Linked DNA regions of Homo sapiens: region 2 is linked to region 1. The links are contacts of gene promoters, found by promoter capture Hi-C in human tissues and cell types (Jung and others, 2019). All regions are on one chromosome and are shown on one strand. The core of a region is centred on a gene start or on the middle of the fragment in contact, and the rest is flanking DNA. Distances in the headings are between cores, read along the strand shown.

What was found. Contacts are between HindIII fragments. The study calls those that stand out against the background at their distance.
Region 2: a fragment that was not itself captured here is called in contact with the fragment with the promoter of CCDC7 in region 1 in 2 of the 25 tissues and cell types used here (H1 embryonic stem cells and dorsolateral prefrontal cortex).

What each region holds. Positions count from the first base shown.
Region 1 is chr10:32,444,866-32,450,038 of GRCh38, forward strand. It overlaps CCDC7 (coiled-coil domain containing 7), which reads left to right and starts at 1,275. Exons shown (of 44, transcript NM_001395015.1): 1 at 1,275-1,532. It overlaps LOC101929431 (a long non-coding RNA gene), which reads right to left and starts at 1,191. Exons shown (of 3, transcript NR_120660.1): 1 at 748-1,191. RefSeq lists an enhancer at 826-1,145 and a silencer at 1,216-1,445. The HindIII fragment of the contact is 7,178 bases long and covers 1-5,173 here.
Region 2 is chr10:32,352,334-32,357,941 of GRCh38, forward strand. All of the region lies in intron 1 of EPC1-AS1 (EPC1 antisense RNA 1), which reads left to right. It also overlaps a transcript of EPC1 not described here. Among named protein-coding and RNA genes, the nearest start is that of EPC1-AS1, 7.8 kb to the left of the region's middle. The HindIII fragment of the contact is 4,123 bases long and covers 702-4,824 here.

The DNA.
Region 1 (5,173 bases), core at 25-2,524:
CTTTTTTAGATGGAGTCTCGCTCTGTTGCCCAGGCTGGAGCGCAATGGCACAATCTCGGCTCACTGCAACCTCCACCTCCTGGGTTCAAGTGATTCTCCTGCCTCAGCCTCCTAAGTAGCTGGGATTACAGGCACCCGCCATCACGCCCGGCTAATTTTTGTATTTTTAGTAGAGATGGGGTTTCACCATGTTGGCCAGGCTAGTCTCGAACTCCTGACCTCGAGTGATGCACTGCCTCAGGCTCCCAAAGTGCTGGGATTACAGGTGCGAGCCACCACGCCCAGCCTGCCTTCATGAATTTTTGAACACACCCAGAAAGAGCAGAAGACAGAACATTTCTGGTACACCAGAAGATGTGTTGTTTTCCCTTTCCAGGCAACCCCAATGGTAACTCCTAGTGGTGTGATGGAGCTAGCCTACACCAGCTCTTGGGAGCTGATAAATTTTCAGGAATCTCTTGTGAGGCATTCAGATTTTACTGGAAAATTAGAAATAATTAGATATAATGAATTTTCAGAGTTTTAGAAAATAGTTGAAATCTACTAAGTCAAATCTAAGGTCTCCTTTAAACCTCCTGGTTTTTAGTTTTAGTTCCATCTTTCCTATTCCTTTCATTTACACACAGGCATTATTAACAGTTAAATTGTATCAATTAATATTTTAAAATATTAAAAACATTTTACTTCGTTCAACTTAAAGACAAAATTAATATATTTCTTGAGGTCAAATTATCTAAAAAACTCTACCTTGTAAAATTGCATCTTAAAGCAGTGCGTGGAAACTGATGGCAAGAAACCACTTAAGTGTCACAACTCTGCTTCAAGTTAATTCCTAGTCCATTTGATTTTGTTTTGCTTTTAAGATCACGAAGCTGGTGTACACTTCCGTGCGAGCTTAGAGTGGTAATGAACTCCACAATACACTGAAAAGAGCTTGAGGAGACAGCAGATGAAGGACTGGGGCTCTGGTTTTGTAGCTGAAGCCCAGGTTCTCAAAGGTCCTACCAGGCCTGTACTTTATTTCTCCTCCGCGGGCCTCTAGGCCAAATGCCTGGATGAATCTGCGCTCAGGGGGCGTCCTGGAATTACACTTGGGAGAGAATAAGAAAGGAGGAGGCCGATGTGCCCATGGACATTATTAACCTTCCGGCAAATCCCCACAGCCGCCAAACTGCGTCTCCTCTTCCGCTCTCGGCGCGCAGCTCACGCTCGCAGCGTCAGCGACGCCGGCGGCGCCAAGGCGTCGTGGCGTCGGGCGCCTGGGACGTGGCTTCAACGGCCCCATCCGGCGCCGGCGGCGGGTGCCCGGCGGTCTTTGCTGCCGCCCGGGGGCGCAGAGGCCGGGCCTTTTCTTTCAGCACAAACGTCAGTTTGTAAAAGGGAGGTGCTGGAGTCTGAGGAGTTTTCAGGCTTCCGTCTCGAAGGAAGTCTGGCAGGCTCGGAATTGTCATCTTCCTCAGGCAAATAGTTTTTCACCTTAGAGCCAGCAAGGCCAAACCGCCCAGTCACCCGACTTCCCACAGTCTCAGCAGGTACACAGGGCGGGGAGCCTCGGGAGCGGCTCCCTTAGCAGGACCTGAGGGTTTCGGGAGAGTCCTGGCTTTGCACTTAGTTTTCCCGCTGCCTGGCTGCCTCCGTGGCGGTTGTGCTGCTTTTTATGCAGGATGTAGGATCGAAGGCAAATCATCCTTTCCCTACGTCCCCTGCCAACCCCTGCCGCTCTCCTCTATTTTGTACACTTTATCATTAAAGGATTTGAAATGAATGTAAGTTAATCCTTGAAGGATGAAACCAGAAAACATTTGTCGTGGTGGCGGAAAGGGACGGATGCACTTGGGCGAAGTAATGCTGACATCCACTTCCTAGCATTGTTAGGAGGGATAAATGAATTAAATATGTAAAGTCCTTAAATATTTGCTTGCTAATACGAGTATTCATTGCGTGTGACTATTTTTGTATTTATGTGAACTTCATCGGAGCATTTGTCAGGTTCTTTTTTTTTGCACCAAGTGAGCGTTGCCTGCCTGCCTGCCTGCCTGCCTCCCTCCCTCCCTCCCTTCCTTCCTTCCCCTCTTCCCTTCCTCCCTCCCTCCCTCCCTCCCTCCCTCCCTCACACTTTTTTGGGGAGAGAGGACACAATGCAATCCATAACAGCATATACACTTGTTCTTTTTTCCATCGAACTTTCCTCTTGACCATGTTTTCTTCTAGTAATACTGTATTTCTTTACTCCCTTTTATAGTAAAATTTCTCTACAGTGCTTATATTCAATTCATTGTTCCTACTTCCTCTCTTTTGAACGGTAAGTCAGATATTTACCTCGATCATTCTACTGAAATTGTTGCCGTTCTTCAGGTTACAAATGACCTACCTCCATGTTGCCAAATCCAGTGTCAGCTTAGTCTTCATTTTACTTGACTCAGCATTTGACGTAGTTCATCACTCGGTCCTTGGTGATATTTTCTTTTCCTTGCTTTCTATGTATATATAACCTTTTGGTTTTACTTATTGGCTCATTGGCCACTCTTCTTACGTCCTGTTTCCTGGTCCTGATGGTTTTGATGGAATTTTTGATGTTTGCTTGGACCTGAAGGTTTTGATGGAGTTTCTTTGGCAATGTAATTTATTCAGAATTCTTTTGAGGCTTTTCAATTTTGTAAATTTAATCTTGGTTTCTGCATCATTTTGCTTGTATCATTAATTTTTACTGAAAGCATCGTGTCACAATCGGCATGAGAAAAATGTAAAAGGGAGCAGGGCGCACAGTGGCTCAGGCGTGTAATCCCAGCACTTTGGGAGGCTGAGGTGGGAGGATCACCTGAGGTCAGAAGTTCGAGACCAGCTTGGCCAACGTGGTGAAACCCTGTCACTATTAAAAATACAAAAATTAGCCGGACGTGGCAGTGGGCACCTGTAATCCCAGCTACTTGGGAGGCTGAGGCAGGAGAATCGCTTGAACCTGGGAGGCAAAGTTTGCAGTGAGCAAGATTGTGCCATTGTACTCCAGCCTGGGCGACAAGAGCGAAACTCTGTCTCAAAAAAACGAAAAATGTAAAAGGGAATATTTTGCAGGGGCTTTGGTTCAAGTTCTATAATGTGTTTATTTACTATTATCATCAGTAATTTCCAAGAGAGCATTGTGTTCTTCCTTCAAATGGATTTTTAGTGACAAGTTATTTTTGCAAAGTCATATTTGATTATGATTTAAAAATTATGCTTGGCAACTATGCATTCAGTTAACTATAGTGTTAACTATAGTGTTTCATCGAAACAAAAAAGCAGTTGTATAATTCTTGGATGAAATAAACATTTTCAGTGCTATTAAGATATTTTCGTTCTATTGTTCACAACCTAGTTTAGAATTTTTATTTTTGAGAATTTTCTGTTTGTGCTTGTCAGACATATTTAAGGGCATGTATCCCTGGCCCCATATATATTATATATTTTTAATTTTAATTTTTTATGAGTAGTCTCTTACACATATATATGATTCTTTTCCAGCGGGGTGTCATCTACTTGTTAAAATCCTAATAAATGTTCACATATTGAAATATCTGCATTTTGGAAATCCATAATTACATCAACAATTGTTATCTGCTGTCCATATGTCCAAAATAATTGAGAAATTATTAGTTTTTAAAACTTTATTCAAAGTGGTTTTATTTATAACATCTGTAAGTTTTATTATTTGTTTTTATATTTTATTCTCTAAAATAGTATGTTATACTATTTGGTATTGATATTTATGTTTTGCATAAATGTGCTAACAGGATACCATCAACTTTTGCCATGGTTTCTGGCAAATAAAAAAAATCCTATTATTGGTCTCTTCATATATATCGGATGATCTTCTGAACATTAGATACTGCTTCTCCAAAAATTGAATCATGTTTATTGTTATTAACAAATATATAGGCCTTTATTTTCTCATTTTCAGTAGAATTGCTAATTATTTATATTTTTTTCAAACCTGATACTAGCTTTTAATACTTATCACTATTGATGTGTATTTTATTAATGTTCAGGAATATGTGATAAATGCTGCTGATCTTTGCATTATTTTTTATTCTTCAGCTGGATTATTCCTCCACTGATTTTATTCTTTGCATCAGTTTTTATTCTTCAGCAGTATTATTTTGTGATTACTCGTGTTGTTTTATCTGTTATATTTTTCATTTTTTAATATCTTCACTTGGGTCTTAAAAATTCCTCTTATACCTGTTTCATATGGCTGATATTCTCTTTCTGTGTGTTTATGTATTTTTAGTCTCTCTGTTTTAATGATTCTACAACTAAAACATGTTTTTTAGTTTATTATTTTTATATTTATTTATTTATTTGAGATGGAGTCTTACTCCATCCCCCAGGCTGGAGTGCAGTGGTGCAGTCTCTGCTCACTGCAACCTCTACCTCCGAGTTCAAGCGATTCTCCTGCCTCAGCCTCCCGAGTAGCTGAGACTACAGGTGCCCACCACCACGCCTGGATAATTTTTTGTATTTTTAATAGAGACAGGGTTTTACCATATTGGCCAGGCTGGTCTCGAACTCCTGACCTTGGGATCCACCCGCCTCTGCCTCCCAAAGTACTGGGATTACAGGCGTGAGCCAATGCGCCTGGCCTATTTTTTATTTTTTAATGGTTTTTTTTTCCGTTGTCAAGTTGTTTTGGCCTGTGAGCTCATATACCCCTGGGGGTGTCCCCTGTTTGTCTGGTAATCTATTATTAGGAAATGATCAAAAGCCAGTTCTCAGCCTGTGTTCCTCCTGGAAGTTAGGGAAAGTATGTGGGTGTATTTGTTTTCGAAGTGCTAAATATTTCCTGTGGTCTGAATGCTTGTGTCATCCCCAAATTCGCATGTTGAAATTGGGACCCAATTCAACATATGGTAGAATTAGGAGGTGGGGCCTTTAGGAGGTGATTAGGTTATGAGTGCAGCACCCTCATAAATGGGACTACTGCCCTTATAAAAGAGGTCTGAAAAAGCTCCCTTGCTCCTTCCATCATGTGAGGACACAGAGAGTAGGCAACATTTATTTAGCGTCTGGGCTTTCATCAGACACCAACTCTGCTGGTGCCTTGTCGTTGGACTTTCCAATCTCCAGAACTGTGAGAAATAAATGTTTCTTGTTTATAAGCTATGCAATTTATAGTGTTTTGTTATAGCAGCCTCAA
Region 2 (5,608 bases), core at 1,513-4,012, 91 kb before region 1:
ACTGCGCCCCGCCCAGCTGTATTGATTCTTTTCAGTCTGTCCTCCCTGTCCTGCCTCAGACTGTCTACCGAAATCCTATTTCACAGGAATGTTTTGGACACTAAGTAAAACAAACCATGTAAAGCACTTAGAATCATCCCTGGCCCACAGTGAACCCTCAATAGATGTAAGATATTGTTATTATTCTTCAAAATCCAGCTCAAATATCACCTCCCCCATGAAACATTGACTACTTAAACTCTCTGGGCCCTAATTTCCTAATCTGAAGCATCGGTGAGCAGTTAGGTAAATGCAAAATAAGCCTCCCCCAGTCTTTCTCATCTCTGAGCTCCTATTATGCTTTCAGTCAACAGGAAGAATAGCTACCATTTATGGAACACCTAGTATGTACTAGGTGATGCAGAAATACTTTAAATGCATTATCTCAATTTTCGTGACAGCCCTGTTAGGTATTTCCTGTTGGGTTTAGAGAGGTTGTGTGACTGGCTTATGGCCAGGAAGCTGATAAGAGGCAGTGCTTAGTATCCCTAGTATCTATCTGGCCAGACACAGTGGCTCACACCTGTAATCCCAGCACTTTGGGAGGCTGAAGCGGACAGATTACCTGAGGTGGGGAGTACAAGACTAGCCTGACCAACACGGAGAAACCCTGTCTCTACTAAAAATATAAAATTAGCTGGGCGTGGTGGCACATGCCTGTAATCCCAGCTACTCAGGAGGCTGAGGCAGAAAAATACCTTGAACCAAGGAGGCGGAGGTTGCAATGAGCCAAGATCGCGCCATTGCACTCCAACCTGGGCAACAAGAGCACAACTCCATTTCAAAAAAAAAAAAAAAAAGCAAAAAAAGAAATCCCTGGTATCTGATTCCAGAGTGCAGTCCCAGATTGAAGTGAAGTGCGAACTAGAATCGAAGAAAGAGATGTTTAAGAGGGTTGGTAATGAAGGGCAAAGAGAGAGAGAAAGGGGTAGCTATTTGAAGTCAAGGGTTTCATTGTTTTTGAAAGTAGGAGAGATGTGGGCATGTTTGTATACTAAAAGCAAAGAATCATTTAAATGGGTTAATTTTAGGGCTGTCTTTTTCTGAGCCAGGCAGGAAAGAATGACAGCCAGAATGGACAGTGATGCAAAGAGTTAAACTCTCTTTGATGGGACAACAAGATTAAAAATCATAATACTGGTTTTGGTAGCAGGAGTCCGGATTCCTCATTTCTTCAAGCATTCAACAAATATTTATCAAATGTTTACTAAGAGCTAAGGCAAGACAGTTTGTGTTGGAGAAACAATAATAAACAAGATATGGTCTCTACATCCTCACGGGACTAATAATAAAGTGAGGTACTGTATTTGTATTTAATTGGGAAAATGTGAAATTAATATCTTTAAACCATGTAAATGCACAATGATCTCTACATTAAAAAGTGATGTAGTGCAATAATTTAAAGCATTCTGCAAAAGTATGAATACTGAATACATTATCACTTGAAGTAATCATTTCTAATCATTTCTCTTAACTTCCTGCTTTTTACTTTCATAATAAGCTACATAAAGAAATGACTGCAAACAATTCTTCCACCATAACATTTAGGTAAACAAACACTGGAAGCCCTTTATAGTATGTTGTTTTTTTCATCTAGGAAATGTTGGAAAGAAAATATTACAGTTGCCTTTCAATATATTTACTAAGGTGTCACAGAAACAATATCTGAAGTACTGATTTCCTTACTGAGTAATTTGTGCATGGAGGTCTGTACATAATCTTTAAGAACTATTTTTCACATAAAATAAAATCATTCAGAATATATTTAGAAACAATATATCTGTACCTTAAGAGAATAAAGGGCAAATTATCAATCTTAGCAAACAGTAGCAGGATGGACTCAAAGTTATTTCAGTTTAACTTTATCTTCAATATGAAGTTTAACAACAACAACAAAAAAGAAATGAAAAATGCATGATTCAATACAAAAAATTAGCTGGGCATGGTGGTGGGCGCCTGTAATCCCAGCTACTTGGGAGGCTGAGGTAGGAGAATGGTGTGGACCCGGGAGGCGGAGCTTGAAGTGAGCCAAGATTGTGCCACTGCACTCCAGCCTGGGCGACAGAGTGAGACTCTGCCTCAAAAAAAAGAAAGAAAATGCGTGATTTAAACAAATGGGACTATCTGAGAATTGTAGTTGCAGCAGTATTGGGATTTAAAAAAGATGTCACACAATACATTTTAGATTTTCTATGTAATCTAAATAGAATGTCTTTACACATTTATTGTGTAAATCCTAAGGTTTAGGTTTTCTATAACCTTAGGATTTACACAATAAATGTGTAAATGTATTGGGATTTACACATTTATTGTAAATGTGTAATGTGTAACTGGCCACACAGCACAGAAGTGGGTGGCAGGCAAGCCAGCAAAGCTTCATCTGTATTTACAGCCAATCCCTAGTGCCCACATTACCACCCAAGCTTCACCCGGCATTAGATTCTCATAGGACCTCAAGCCTTATTCTGAGCTGCACATTGAGGGATCTGGGTTGCATGTTCCTTATGAGAATCTAATGCCTGATGATCTGTCACTGCCTCCCATCACTGTCCCCACATAGGACTGTCTAGTTGCAGGAAAACAAGCTCAGGGCTCCCACTGATTCTACATTATGGTGAGTTGTAGAACTGTTTCATTATATATTACAATGTAATAATAATAGAAAGAAAGTGCACAATAAATGTAATGCACTTGAATCATCCTCATAGGGGGAGCACTCCCTCCCCTGGATCCATAGAAAAGTTGTCTCCCATGAAACTAGTCCCTGGTGCCAAAAAGACTGGGGACCACTGCTGTAAATCATCTGATCTTTTCCTCACTGTGCTGGCAAGCAGTTGATACCTCTATGACAGCATTTTAAGGAGGATACTACTAGTTGCAGTTGGAGAAGTGGTGGGATGCGTGAACAGGAAACTGTTGAGAAACTGAACTTGAAAAATAATAATTTACTCCTTAGCAGAGGAACTATTCGGTAGTCTCTTCCATGTCTCATCCCAACAATTAATTTCTCAGAATAAAAGTCTATCTTAGAAAAATGTACAAATTAAACTGTATACATTTTAGAAATATTTGGTGGTATTTATCTAAACTGGATTACGTTAAATTACTGTCAACCCATTAAATCCATTGACTGGCACATACTGACAGATTACTATGTGTAGGCCAGGCATTGGTGCAAGGTTATAAATGGTAGAAAGACAAAAACAAAGAACACACTACCTTTAGTGCCTTACCCTTTTTTTTTTTTTTTTTTTTTTTTTTTTTTTTTTTGGGACAGAGTTGACCAGGCTAGAGTGCAGTGGCATGATCTTGGCTGCAACCTCCGCCTCCTGAGTTCAAGCCATTCTCCTGCCTCAGCCTCCCGAGTAGCTGGGACTACAGGCGTGCGCCACCACACCCAGCTAATTTTTGTATTTTTAGTAGAGACAAGGTTTCACCATGTTGGCCAGGCTGGTCTTGAACTCCAGACCGCAGGTGATCTGCCTGCTTTGGCCTCCCAAAGTGCTGGGATTACAGGTGTAAGCCACTGCACCTGGCCAGTGCCTTACACTTTTGAGTAGATAGACTACTTAAGCATTAGTTTTACTAAGTAATGCACATACAAATCAGTATGGTACAGATGGTACATGATGGGTGAAGGAACAAAGGAACAAAATTTAGAGAAAAATTGTTAATGAAGTAGAAACATATGTTGGAACATTTAAGTACAATTTATTAGTGGGTGGTAGACAAAGACTGTCAGGGAGGAAGGGCTTCGAGAGAGAAAATATCATGAATTGCTTTTGCTTTTATAACACGAGGAAGGAAATTCTGTTTTCTTACTGAAACTTGGGGTACAGAATTATCATCTAATAAATTAAGATTAGTGAAATAAAATGTTTTATCTTTCACTATATTTATTCTTCTCCATGACACCTTGAGTAACATTGTGCCAATTGCTTAGGTAAGCACTGTGAATCTAGTTCCCCTTCCCTTTCAGAGCAGGGAAGGGAAAGTGAATGACTGGAAGCCCATGGAGTGGGATTCTTGGTGTGAAGACTCACTCAGGGAGTGAGAGAGGAGCATAGAGAATGGAGCCCTGGGGAATACCAACATCTAGAAGATACCCAGGACAAGAACAGAGGGAGAGGCTGGGACAAGCCTGGAGACAAGCCAAATGAGGTCAGCATTTCAAGGAGGAGATCAACGAGGAGAATCAAAAAGAATGAGGAGGTCACAGTAAACCCATTTTCTTTAGGACACCGTGGGAGGAAAATAGACTCTGTGAGCTGAGCCGTGAATTGGAAGTTATAGGCCTAGTGGTGCCTGCGCACGTTGATTAAACATTTACCGCCAGGCGCGGTGGCTCACGCCTGTAATCCCAGCACTTTGGGAGGCCGAGGCGGGCGGATCACGGGGTCAGGAGATCGAGACCATCCTGCCTAACACGGTGAAACCCCATCTCTACTAAAAATACAAAAAATTAGCTGGGCGTGGTGGTGGGCACCTGTAGTCCCAACTCGGGAGGCTGAGGCAGGAGAATGGCGTGAACCCGGGAGGCGGAGCTTGCAGTGAGCTGAGATCGCACCACTGCACTCCAGCCTGGGCGAGGGAGCGAGACTCCGCATCAAAAAAATAAAAATAAAAAAATTTACCAAAGCCCCCAAAAAAGTGATTTCCCAGTACCCTCCTATAATCATTGTTTAAGTACTTGTTCACAAGAATGAGACCACTTTGAAGTCAAAAATCAGTTAAGCTTCAGGACATAGCCAGGGACACAGAGTAGCTATCATCCTCAGCGCCTCCCATGTTAGAACAGAGTACATGACGTATCTTCCAGAGTTAAAGCTGTAGAAGCTTGGAAACCAAAGACCTACATGACTTCTCTACATGAATTACTGACACAGGTAAAAGCCACATCCAGATCTTAAGATTTCTTCTGAATTTGGTTTCCCAAACACGAGACGCATAAGACAAAAAATAAGACAGTTGCACTGCAGCAGCATGTATATTGGAACGAGATAATATTTTTTGTTTCAATTGATTTATTTATAATAAGGTTAACACTTTGTGTTTCTGTTTCTTCTGGTCTTTTCTGGTTTTGTTTGTTAGTTTTGTTGTGGTTTTGACACAGGATCTTGCTTTGTGGCCCAGGCTGCAGTGCAGTTGTGCTATCACGGCTCACTGCAGCCTCAAACTTCTGGATTCAAGTGATCCTTCTGCCTCAGCCTTCAGTAGCTGGGACTACAGGTGCGTGCCACCATGTCTGGATAATTTTTTAATTGTTTTCTAGAGACAGGGTCTTGCTACGTTGGCTAGGCTGATCTTGCACTCCTGACCTCAAGCAGTCCTCCTGCCTCAGCCTTCTAAAGTGCTGGGATCATAGGTGTGATTCACCATGCCTGGCCCCATTTGTTAGTTTTTGTTTTTGCTTTTCATTGGCTGGTTTTACAATATAGAGATAATACAGTTTATTCTGTTTTGTGGCCTTCTCAATAAATTTTTTTTTTTTTTTTTTTTTTTAGACAGAGTCTCACTCTGTTGCCAGGCTGGAATGTAATGGCATGATCTCCACTCACTGCAACCTCCA